2 separate regions of the Homo sapiens genome follow, and region 1 is linked to region 2. The links are contacts of gene promoters, found by promoter capture Hi-C in blood cells and fetal thymus (Javierre and others, 2016). All regions are on one chromosome and are shown on one strand. The core of a region is centred on a gene start or on the middle of the fragment in contact, and the rest is flanking DNA. Distances in the headings are between cores, read along the strand shown. Region 1 overlaps SLC25A12 (solute carrier family 25 member 12). Region 2 holds the start of METAP1D (methionyl aminopeptidase type 1D, mitochondrial).

Evidence for each region. The method cuts DNA at HindIII sites, captures the fragments that hold promoters and counts their contacts. A CHiCAGO score of 5 or more calls a contact.
Region 1: a fragment that was not itself captured here is called in contact with the fragment with the promoter of METAP1D in region 2 in 2 of 17 cell types (neutrophils and monocytes); the score reaches 5.7 in neutrophils.

The regions. Positions count from the first base shown.
Region 1 is chr2:171,793,453-171,799,995 of GRCh38, reverse strand. SLC25A12 (solute carrier family 25 member 12) reads left to right here. Exons shown (of 18, transcript NM_003705.5): 14 at 6,229-6,369. Among named protein-coding and RNA genes, the nearest start is that of SLC25A12, 98 kb to the left of the region's middle. RefSeq lists an enhancer at 1,307-1,837. The HindIII fragment of the contact is 1,734 bases long and covers 555-2,288 here.
Region 2 is chr2:171,997,389-172,003,845 of GRCh38, reverse strand. It overlaps METAP1D (methionyl aminopeptidase type 1D, mitochondrial), which reads right to left and starts at 3,893. Exons shown (of 10, transcript NM_199227.3): 1 at 3,837-3,893. The coding sequence starts at 3,876. It overlaps LOC124905590 (a long non-coding RNA gene), which reads left to right and starts at 3,937. Exons shown (of 3, transcript XR_007087296.1): 1 at 3,937-4,167. RefSeq lists a silencer at 3,899-4,198. The HindIII fragment of the contact is 8,153 bases long and covers 832-6,457 here.

The DNA of each region.
Region 1 (6,543 bases), core at 172-2,671, 200 kb after region 2:
CTGTTCTTTTTTAATTGTTAAACTCGAATCAGAGATTAGTGATAAACTTACCTAGCTGACTGCATTACCTCTTTCAGAGAGTATATACTCCTGAGTGGATGGAAGTCATGAAACTCAAAACTTATTACTCAGCAAAGTGCTAATGTTGCAGGTGAATTTTCACAACCCTATGCGAACACACTTTCTGGAGAACACGTTCTTTCCCTTTGTGTCTTGCTTTCAGTCTGCATAGTGCTCTCAAATGAGTTAGTAGTGCACAAGACCTCGGTGAGGCAGAGAGCATGGTTGTGGGAATGGAATGGTTATGCCGAATGCAAAATCTATGACGATCTAGGTCAGTAGTCTTCCAAACCTAGAATCTTTCAACTCTCCCATGCTTTTTCTCAGCTTAAGCATGTGTCTACACACACCACATACACACACCCTCCCTTCATATCGGTAAAGCAAAAAGCCCACATGTTAGGCGGAGCATTTACTAATCCTGGGGGCCAAGATCTGTAACTAGCCAGCTCCTTATGATGAAGAATTCTATGTCTTCCTCAGCAAGCCAAGCTTGTATATCTCTAAAGAGTAGTTTGGAAACAGCTCTTCCACCTCTCATCCCCAGGAATTAGTGTAGTCCAACTTTATGCCTACATACTTATGTGAACACATATAGATATGCATACAAGTTGAAAATCCTTATATATTTATGTCAAAAGTGGCTTATGATAGGTACACAGGGATTTTCATTCTTGCTGTCTTAGTTCATTTTGGCTGCTATTAAAAAATACCTTCGATGGAGTAATTTATAAACAACAGAAATTTATTGCTCACAATTCTGGAGGCTGGAAGTTCAAGATCAAGGTACCAGCAGATTCAGTGTCTGGTGAGGGAGGGCTTGCTCTCTGCTTCCAAGATGGCACCTTGCTGCTGTGTGCTTGCATGTACCTTGCTGCTGTGTGCTTGCATGTACCTTGCTGCTGTGTGCTTGCATGGTAGGAGAGACAAGGCAGCTCCCTTCAACCTCATTTATAAGGGCACTAATCCCATTCACTAGGGCAGAACCATCATGACTTAATCACCTCCCAAAAGGCCCTACTTCTTAATACTATAATGTTGGATATTAGTTCCAACATATGCATTGTGGGGAAACACCAATATTCGGATCATAGCACTTCCCTTACCCTAGTTAGGAGTATATGTAGTGTTAATTTGTAACACCCTCGCATATATCATCACTCAGCAATGAGCACATTGCATTTATTTCTTTTAAACTATCACTATCCTATTTTAGAAAGAACCATAGCATTTCCTATTGCTTTACAAAAATATGAACGGTTGGTGGTGTGCAAGGCTGAGTCACTGTCTGTTCCTGTTCCTCTTGAGTCAGTCCTAGTGACAGCTAGTTCTGTGACTTTTACTGTTTATCTGGTTATTTTATACGCACATACTGTGTTCATCTGGAGTTGATGTGACCTTAAATAAATTGAAGTTAGATTTTCATCAGTCTCGATAAGGGAAGACTTTATAATGAGTTGCTTAGATTGGATATTTTGTGGTTGGAGGGAAATCATTTCAATCTATAGGAGACAACAGATCAAAGAAGGAAATAAACAAAGGACTTGGCACAAGCAGGGCCCAGCCTCCAACCTCTTTGTGAACCTTGCCCCAGGGGTAGGATTGAGAGGGCAGAAGGTTGAATAGGCCTAATCCTGTATACAGCCCCTCGGCCTTTGGCACTGTGGAGGCATGGTGACATCTCAAAATTACATCCTTTTCCCCGCTAACTTTTGCTGTCAGCTTTAGTTGATTTTCTCATTAAAAAATTCATATGATATAAGATTAAATGGAAGTTTTTTATTCTTTCCATTTCTGTTATATATGGGTAACCCTCATTCAAAATGAGATTTGTTCTCTTTTATGTATCTTTTAAACTCAGTTCTAGAACAAAGAAATGACAACAGAATACTGAAAAATAGAAAGCATCTAAGTCTGTTTTAGTATTAATGTTTGTATCTCTTTTAAAAAATAGGCGGGAAATTTAAGCAATTAGAGAATTAGAAGCTAATTTTGGTGATTTCATGAGTGAAAAAAATTCAGCAAAGGTATGATATAGAGTGGTATGTTATCTAATGTAAGCATTAGTAACAGAAGCAGCAAGATGCCAAATTTAGCAATGTCCATTTACATTTATATAGCTGTGTATCATTGTGATTTAATTTAAAATTTTATATATCTTAGTGTCGATTATTTCAGGTCACTAGCTATATTTGATTAGGTTTTTTGATGTTCATATATAATAAGCTTTTTAAAAAACCTTGGGTCCACAGTAACTAACGCCAACCAGTTTAAAAAATATATTTGCCAAATTACCAAATTTACCATGAAGAAGAATATGCGAGAGAAGACTTAGTCTATAAAGAAGCCATTGTTTCTAAGACCAGGTCTGTTTCTTGTTGTTGTTGCGTAGTTAATACATTCATATGTTTTGAAATTTAAAAGGTACAATAGAGTATGCTATGAAAATTATTTCTCCCAGCTATTCAGTTTCTCTTTCCAGGAGGCAATCAATGTTTTAATCTTTAAGCCACTTGGGTTTTGAGAAACTTAGGTAAATTTTGACATATTTATGATCAAATGTGTGCCTAATATTTTATGTTCTGTTTTTGTCATTTGGCGTGATTTTATTATCAAATCATATTGCCCAATTAATAGCATAGAATTGTATCTACTTAGCTGTTTTATTGGGAATTTGAATTTCTTCCTGTTCAATTTTGCTGCTATTAAAAATAGCAAACATTAGCATATTTGTAGAAATACAGGTACTATTTTTTATTGAAAAGTTACTGTATTTATGAAATTCTCTATATTAAAGATTATATTTACTGCAAGCAGTGCTTTTCCCCTTTGGAAAGCTGTTATTAATGATATCATTTATAATCAATAGAGTCTTAGAAGAAATATGGTATTTCTCTGTATTTGTTTCGCAGAGAGGAAACACCCAGTTCAAGAGTTTGATAACATCATAGTCCCTCATTCTGAGTTGCTTGATTTATTACCAGTATAATTGAACTAATCTCAGATTTTACTCCCCCTTCCCTATCCCCAGTTTAATATGTAGGATAGAGAGAGTGGTCAACCTCAGAATCCGAAAAAGAACAGTGCATATTTGCCATGTGTGTTTCCCTTTAAGCATTATAAACATCCAGAGTTTTAGACAAATTATTACGTTGGTACAAAAGTAACTGCGGTTTTTGCAGTCTTTATCTTTGCTAAAATTATTCAGCGTTTCTGGAAAGTATTTGCCTTATGTTCCTAGGCCTATCATGAGGTTTTAAAAATGTATACTAATTACTAAAAAAAAAAAAATTTTAAGAGATAGGGGTCTTGCTCCATTGCCCAGGCTGGCCTTGAACTCCTGGGCTCAAGTAATCCTCCTGCCTCAGTCTTGTGAGCAGCTGGGACTACAGGCATGTGTCATTGCACTTGGCTTGTATGTTAATTTTTAAAACATATACAAATCATTAATTGTCAGAAGTTTTCCTCCTTCAAACATAGGCATGAAACAAACTTACAGATGTGTGCCTTGCTATAGTGTCATTGATTATTTGCACTCTTACTTGCTAGATTATATGTGTTTATAAATGCACATCAATTGAGTTTTGTGGTTATGTCCTGTGCGTTGTTGGGATTTGGTATGTGTGCTAGGTAACTAATCTTCAAAGCATACAACAATTAAGGTGTATGTATTTTTAAAATGTAGTCCCAGCTGGGTGCAGTGGCTCACGCCTGTAATCTTAGCATTTTGGAAGGCCAAGGCGAGTGGATCGCTTGAGCCTAGCAGTTCGAGATCAGCCTGGGCAACATGGTAAGACCCCCATCTCTACAAAAAATACAAAAATTAGCTGGGCGTGGTGGTGCACGCTTGTAGTCCCAGCTACTCGGGAAGCTGAGGTGGGAGGATCACCTGAACCTGGGGAGGTTGAGGTTGCAGTGAGCTGTTCCTGCCACTGCACTCCAGCCTGGGTGACAGAGTGAGGCCCTGTCTCAAACAAACAAACACAAACAAAATGTAGTCAGTTATTTCTTTTTATTGTACCATTTTTGTAAAGTTTCAGTAGAAAGCCTATTACTTGTATACTTCAAAAAATTTGAAGCATTGTTAAAGGAGTATAAATCTCAATCAATTATTTCTAAAAGAGAGAAGGAAGAGGAGGAGGCAGCTGTGGGGTGGGGGTGGGGGACACGGATTGGAGTACTCCTGCCCAGCAGGATGTTATAATTTACTAATGATTACAAACATGAAAGACCTTAGTATTTATTTAAACATAATGTCCACATTTAACACTTGGCACCCAGGGACTGACACTGTCTGGTAGTGGCAAATTTGGGGGAATTAGAATAAAAATTTGTGGTTCTATTCATTTTTAAATCTGCTTTAGTTAAAACATAAAGCAGATATGCAACCATTATTTAAGATAGTCTTTGCAACCATTATTTAAACAAGAGATTTCAGGGAAGTAGTAAACTTTTTCAATTGATTTGGTCTTTAATACTAGCTACAGGAGCAATTACTTGGATTATCATTTTAACATAATTTTTCATGCAGCAATCCTTTTGAAAGTATTGTTTGCTTAGATTGAAACATTAAAGTGCTTCCTTCTGCCTGCAGTACAACAGATTCAAAGAGAGAGAAAGGCAGGCAAATCAACATGTAAAATTGGGTCAGTACATCGTTGGGGGACCTGTGTGCCAGTGGTCTGGATTGTGTCGAGTTGAGGAGTTAGAGGAAACCATGAGAGAGAGATAGCAAATTGCTGCACCTCCCTGCTCGAAGGACAAAGAGGGGATTAAGGCCCTGGGGAATCCAGGACAATAAGCTGTCCATGAAGAGGGAAGGAATTTAGTATCAGTGCTGGCAATTTTGAATATTGAAAGGAGTTAAGGAGTCAGGATTGGAATAGGGGTAGTTGGGGGATTTATAGTCCCAAGGCAATTAGGAAAATGGGCTGAGCCATGTTCCTGCCCCTTGGAAGCGGGTCTGGGAGGGCTTTGGGTTTTAGATAAGTGAGCAGGAATGTGGGCAAAGGTTGAGCACTGAAGTGCCATTGAAAGCTGCATGTGAATTTTTAGGTGTTCTATACCTGTGGAATTACAGTGCCCCAGATTTCATATTTCACATGTGATTATATACAATGATTATAATGATATGAATATCATTATGAATATTATATGAGTATGGTTATGATTACATAATATAAACAGCTACAGTTGAAGATGTACAAATGGGATTTTTCATTTCATGAAAGGAGATATATATTTTATTTATTTTTATATATCCATAGTCACACACATTTTTTTCTTTCTTACAGAAACCAAAAAAAAGAAGTTGGTAGAAGTTTTGTTAAACGTTTTTTTTTTTTCTCTACTAGTTAACAGATTTCAGATGCAAATATACTCTCATTATCCAAATTCAAATCTCTGTCACTCACCACAGGAATATAGAATGTGGCTTTGATCTTGAGGGTGTTGTACTCATGGTAACTAGATGTTCCATTTCTCAGCTTTGCCTTGAAGAGTTTTTCTGGTTTTGTCTTGAAATGATACTGAAATTTATCTTTCTAAATTCTTCCCTTTTGTGTGGGTGTAGCCATGTACCTGTATCAGAGTTTTGCTTAGGATAATACATTTTAGAATTGGAACTGGAGGAGACTTTTCCCCTTCTGACTTAAGGCACCAAAGTAGTTTTAATTGCTCTACAATCCAAGGAAGCAGAAGCAAGTGGGTCTGCTGCCAAGAACGCTTACCACAAAGAGGAAAAAAATAATTGTAGCTCTGAATTTTAGCTCTGGCTTGTAAAATATGACAGTCTTTTACTATCTCTTTTTCTTTCATTGAGTACCTTGCTGCCACATCTGGCTCCGCTTTTTTTTCCAAATGGGTTTATTTTGTTATTTTGAATATGGCTGGGGTGATCCTGGAAAGACTGGTCTGAGAAACAATCTTGACATTTCAGCTAGAAACAAACCCAGAGGTAGATTGATCTGAGACAGAGTTTGGGACCATCCCTCTGAACCTCTCCAGGGTTGGCCTAAGTGTCAAACTGTCATTCCCCCCTGAGGAAGGAAGTTTCACCTCCTTCTTTTCAAGATAGCAAGATGTGGAGGCTTTGCTGGATTTTCCTTTTTTACGCTGCCAGTCGGGCTCTGATGTGGAATCTGCCTGTCTCTTCTCCCTTGCCTACAGGCTGGAGGCTCTCAGGTCATTTTTACCAACCCATTGGAGATAGTGAAGATTCGTCTGCAAGTAGCTGGAGAGATCACCACGGGACCCAGAGTCAGCGCCCTGAATGTGCTCCGGGACTTGGGAATTTTTGGTCTGTATAAGGTGGGTAGGTTTAGGTTATAATGTACTCAATAAAATATGAAAGAATGTGGAAACCAGACTTCTTCCCTCCAAGTTGAAAAGCAATCTTGTCCAGCAGGGTAGTCTGTGGAGCAGAAAATCAAACAAAAAGAAAAGAATCAGGACACTTGTATGAGAGGCAGTGGGATACACATG
Region 2 (6,457 bases), core at 2,644-5,143:
TTGCAGTGAGCCAAGATCGCACCACTGCACTTCACCCTGTGCTACAGGGCGAGACTCTGTCTCAAAAAAAAAAGAAAGAAAATATGCCCTCTTACTTGCTGTATTAGTCTGTTCTCACACTGCTATGAAGAAATTCCTGAGACTGGGTAATTTATAAAGAAAAGGGGTTTAATTGACTCACAGTTCTGCATGGCTCGGGAGGCCTCAGGAAATGTATAATCATGGCAGAAGGCACCTCTTCACAGGGTGGCAGGAGAGAGAATGAGTGCAAGCAGGAGAAAATGCCAGACGCTTATAAAACTATCAGATCTCCTGAGACTCACTCATTATCACAAGAACAGAATGGGGGAAACTATCCCCATGATCCAATTACCTCTACCTGGTCCTGCCCTTGACACATGGGGATTATTACAATTCAAGCTGAGATTTCCTTGTTCCTCTTCATATTCACTGGGATCTTGCTTCGTGGCCCGAGCTAGACCTGGGATTCCAGTGAAGCGAGGGCTGGGAGTGAGACTGAGATAGGAGAGAGTTCCTGGGGCCCCAGGGTAGGGATTCTGTACTCTGAGGAAGGGATTTCCTGCCAGCACTAATACTTGGGAGTATTTTAGTCCCTTAAAGGCCCTTGTTACCTTCTCTCTTGGTTCCAAGAGGCTGATCTGTCTTTTCCTCTTTCCAATGTCACTACTCATAGTTTCTACCCAACCCTCCTTAGACCATGATGGAAGAGAACAAATCTTAACAGCCTCTCAATTCTGTATACTTTTAATGAGCTTAACTTTGAGCCAGGTACTGTGCTTATAAAGACAGAAAGATACATAAGACAAAGCTTCTGTTCAACAAGAATTAATAATCTAGTAAGGAGCAGAAATGGTGAGAGGAGCTAGGTAACTACTGTATATAGGGTATACTGTGACCAAAGCCACAATGAGTTGAGGCGTCACAAGAGAAACCTCATGCCTTTTTTAAAAGGTTAAAAAAAAGTCTTCCTCTATTTCAAGAAGAAATGATGCTCATAAATGCTGATAATAAATCCTGGTACATGAAGACTTGTAATGGATTGCTTTACATAAATCTAGATGGGTGAAAGGGAGGAAGAGGGTGGAGAGAGGAGTCTTCGTGAATTTACCCTTCATTTTCAATTCTTGGGGGTGGGGAGCAGGAAAACCTCTCTGCAATTTAAAACTAGCTATGGGTAGTCCAAAAAGGGGCCCTTTCTCCATCATTAAAATAGCTTCCTGATGACACATTTTTCTTCTCTCCTCTAATCAGAGGATCCACTTCTTGGTTGTTGCAACACTTTGGGATACAGTGGGATGGATTATAGGAACCAATAACTTGGCCTGACTTCCATATAATATATTTTCTCAAGACTGTCTAAACCACCATTTGTCAAAATAATAAGTGATCAAAAAGAAAGAAAAGATTAATGCTATTTCTGTTATCTGCAAAGAGATGTTATATATACAGTTGGTGCAAAGTAATCACAGTTTTTGTCATTGATTCTAAAACTGCAATTACTTTTGTACCAACCTAATACATATATACACACATATAAAAATACGTTTATACATGCATAGGTGTATATATATATACATACATACACCTATGTATGTTTTCAGGTTGTTTTTTTTTTGGCTCCTCCTCTACATTGACTATCTCCTCAGATCCTTCTCACCATTACCTGAAGCATACAAAAATGAAGTCTAAAAGCCATGATTTCTTGTGAAAAGAGGAAACAGAAAAGTAATTAGTAAAGAAAGTTTGGACTGGAACCCAGATCTTTTTTTTTTTTTTTTCAGCTCACTACAACCTCCGCCTCCTGGGTTCAGGCGATCCCTCCCACCTCCACCTCCCAAGTAGCTGGGATTACCAGCATGTGCCACCACACCTGGCTAATTTTTGTATTTTTAGTAGAGACAGGTTTCACCATGTTGGCCAGGCTGGTCTTGAACTCCTGGCCTCAAGTGATCTGCCCGCCTTGGCCTCCCAAAGTGCTGGGTAATATTACAGGCATTAGCCACCTTGCCAGGCCTGGCACCCAGATCTTGAGAGATGTAAATTGGCTGTCTTTTCACAAGGCTACACTCTCATGCTGATGTCCATTCCTTCATGCAACCAGTCCAAAATGCTCGCTACATCACCTTCCCCATACACATCTCTCCCCTCAAATCTTCCTGTGGCCCCTTTCTCATCTCCACTAACACTGAAATACTGAAGTCTATTCGATTACCAACCTTCTTCCTCTCTAAAAATATCTTCCTCTTCACTTCTTATTTTTTATTATTTTTATTTATTTTTTTTTTCTGAGACGGAGTCTCGCTCTGTCGCCCAGGCTAGAGTGTAGTGGTATGATCTCAGCTCACTGCAACCTCCACCTCCTGGGTTAAAGCAATTTTCCTACCTCAGTCTCCCGAGTAGCTGGGATTACAGGCATGCGCCACCACGCCCAGCTAATTGTGTATATTAGTAGAGACGGGGTTTCACCATGTTGGCCAGGCTGGTCTTGAACTTCTGACCTCAAGTGAGCCACCTGCCTCGGCCTCCCAAAGTGCTGGGTTTACAGGTGTGAGCCACCGTGCCCAGGCTCTCTTCACTTTTTGTACACACTCATCCTGCACTGTCTCTGCTGAACTTTACACACTGACTTCTATGGAGTGACCACGTCATGCAGTACCGAGAAATGAGTCTTAAAAAAAAAAATTAGAGTCATGTTCAAATGAGCAATCTGCCTCTTACCATTTATGCGACCTTAGTAATGTTACTTAACCTCTCTAGCCTTACTTTTCCCTTCTGCAAAGAGAAAATAATTCCTAACTCACTGGGTTTTTGTTTTTGTTTTTGAGACAGGGTCTGGCTCTATTGCCAAGTCTGGAGTTCAGTGGTACGATCACGGCTCACTGCAGCCTCTTGACCTCCCAGGCTCAAGCGATCCTACCACCTCAACCCCCAGAATAGCTGAGACTACAGGCATGTGTCACCACGCCCGACTAATTTTTAAAATTTTTTGTAGAGACGGGGTCTCATTCATTGAGTTTTAAAAGGAAGCAAGCATATGTAAGGCGCTTAACACAGTATCGTGTACTTAAAAGGCACTTAATAAACAGTAGCTGTTACTATGAAAATAATATTTACCTCACAAAACTGTTCCTACATGCCTGACGCTTAAGTAGCTCCTCAAAATATGATAGTTTTCCTCTTCCCCCGTCCTTGGAAAAACTTTCTAGTTCTTTCCAACAAAGATTCAGCACCTAGTTCAAATCCAACAAAGATTTCCCCAATTCTGCTGCAAAGGCATTTGTATATTTACTAAAATCTCAACACTCACGCAGGATAAAACCTACTTAGAACTACCCAGACATCCTTTCTTATCTTCTTAACTTTAAGTCACTGGAAGAAAACCATCACATTTTGCAAGTCCCCAAAAAGCATGCCTGCATAAAAGCTCTAGGGAAGGGAACCGGGTGTCCAGATGCATTTCAGAATTACCATAGGTTTCCTTGCTCGGCATACAGAATAAATGTTGGTTACACTAATGATACAACCGAAGTTGGGGAAAAAAACTTCAGACAATGGCCCGCAAATCTCAAGGAGTAATTGCGAAAAGATGCCACGTGGTGACGTGTTCTAGGCGGGTGATCAGTGAACAAATTTGTATGTGTGATCCTGTGGTGTGTGAATGTGTCATCGTGTGTGCCTGCGTGTGTTCGTAAACACTGAAAGTACAGTCGTGTGCGCCGAGAAGTCTGAGCGCGGGTGCGCATCCCTTTGGACCCGGGTGCGTACCTAGTGAGCAACCGTGCGAACCCTCACGGGGCTCTCCTCCACGCGCTTACCTCTGCGGACGAGCAGGTGGACGCCACTGGGCGCCGCCATGTTGGCGTCGGTCACGTGGCCGCGAGCACTCGCTCGCCGCCCCGCCCGCTGGAGCCGGCCAGTCGCAGCCCTGCCGAAGCCCTGAGGCGTCGAGGCCGCCCGAGGGGAGCGCGCGTGCGCGCGCGGGGCTGACTGCGGGAGCCCTGGCTGGGAAGCGGCTAGGGCACCCGGGCAAGCAGCAGAACCCGCGGCCGGCTGAGTCCTCTCCAGCCGCGAGAGGCGGGCTCCAGCCGCGGCTCGCGCGCTCGCTCTGAGCCCCCGCGCCCAGGTGGGATGGAAGAAGCCTGTCAGGTAAGCGTGGCATCCAATATTTATAGCATCAACATTTTGGTGCATGGAAACGTGAAGTTGGGCGGAAAAAATAAAGCACAATCTAGTGTTCAACATAGCACTTTGTATCGTCTGCCACTCTGTTGCAAATTATTCCCCTGGATTCAGTTGAAAGGTAAAATTTGGTTCAAAGTCACCAGCTCCCCTTTTGCTGTCCCAGAATCTACATTACTCAGCAGAGACTCCAGACAACACAGGATCTGTGTGTCGCTGCAAAATCTATTCTAGGTACCCCAGTGGGTATGTTCAGGAGACTTCTCTTTCTCCAAGGACGCCTTCTGCTTGGCAGTATTAACTGGAGTCTTAATCCTAAATTTGGAGTTTAAGTATAAAAGGATGACGCCTGCCAATTGCATTGCCAAGAGAAGAAGCCTACAGAAGGCCAATTGTGAATCAGATGAGGGAGCTGATGTATGCCTACTGATGACGGTGCCCATTTTTACCAAATTCACTGTCTCTCTTACCTGTGTTCTGGGGTAGATGCCATCCTGTCATGGACCAGGTGTTATTCATCTTAGTAGCCTCCGTGCCCGGCACAGAACCCGATACCCGAGGAATGTCAGGTGAAGCAATTGAACACTGCATGAAACCAGTCAAACTGAGAATGTAACCGTTTCCAGACTTTAAATGCAGTGAAGATTGATTAGGATTCTCAGTGAATGTGTGTGATGTCTTCTAATTAATTTTTAAGCACTACACACTCAGTGAATAATCTAGACAATTCAGAACAATTCAGAAATAAGGAACAAGTGCAAGCCCCTTCCTCGCCCTCTGTACATACCATAGTCCCACTCCCCAGTTAACCACCGTGTGCTCAATTGAGATCTTTGCCTTTTACACACAGGCAAATGTAAGTATTTTAAATAGAATCATATGACTTGCTTTTTCCATTCCAGTCATCATAGGCATCAAATCTTAGAACACTTAGTTCAGACTTATTCTTTTTAATGACTATATAATCTTGATATTTTTACTTTTAAAGAGAGTGAATGTTGGCATTTCATTAGAGGACACATGCTATAATTCTGGAAAACCTGGTTTTGGATGCTTTTGGGTCACCTTGAAAGATAAAGAGAAGTAATGCTTTCCATCAGGGTAAATAAGATGCACAAGAATGAGAATAAAATGTACTCCTACCTTTTGCAAACTCATTTCAATTCCAGGGAGAGCATTTTTGAATGTGGCAAATCTGTCCTCTGTGTAACTGAGGCCAGCAATCTGAGTGCAGCAAAGGAGCCTGAGAGTTAGCTGGCCACAGAGTCTTAAGCAGTGTACAGAAAAAAGAAATCTAGACATCCCTATTCCTTAAGGCATCAAGCCTAGTTTCAAACCCATCTGAAATAGAACACATGTTCATGTGACTTAACTCAGCCAACCCTTGGAAAATAAATGAATGCTTTATTCCCCTACAACTAAAAGGAAAAGGAAACACTATGAGGACCCAGGTGGCACCAGCAGTAGTGGAATCCAGTGAGGAAATCCTCAATAAGTTCGGCATGGAATGTAGATATCTGGGATGAGCTAGAAATGAAGCAAATATGAACTTGCACAGGTGATAGCTCATCCACTGACCCTGGATCTGGCTTCTCTCATACACATCCTTCTCACCGCAGAAGGGTTAAAAGCTGCCAGCACATGTCCGCCAAAACCATCAACTTATGGGATATAAGCTGGGTGTGGTGGCTCATGCCTGTAATCCCAGCACTTTGGGAGGCGAACGCAGGCAGATCACTTGAGGTCAGGAATTCGAGACCAGCTTGGGCAACATGGTGAAACCTGTCTCTACTAAAAATACAAAAATTAGCCAGGCATGGTGGTGCATGCCTGCAATCCCAGCTACTCAGAGGCTAAGGCGGGAGAATCACTTGAACCTGGGAGGCAGAGTTTACAGTGAGCCGAGATCCTGCCACTGCACTCCAGCCTGTGCCACAGAGGAAGATTCTCTCAAAAAAAAAAAAAAAAGGGATATATACATAGTGACCAACAAGATAAAGGGCTAGATCACTGATATCTAGGATCCCTTGCAATTTTAACATTCTGTGATCTTGAGCATTAGAGTGCTTTTATTTAGATGAGTAACCGCTACTGAGTCACTTCTCTACTCCATTTCTGTCCGTGCTCCTATCTGTGAAATGAAGGTTAATTATATTATGGCACTTCACTGATTTGAATTCTTACCATTAGTCAGATTTTGTACTTAGGATTCTTGAATAAAAAATTGAATAATTCGGCCGGGTGCAGTGGCTCACAC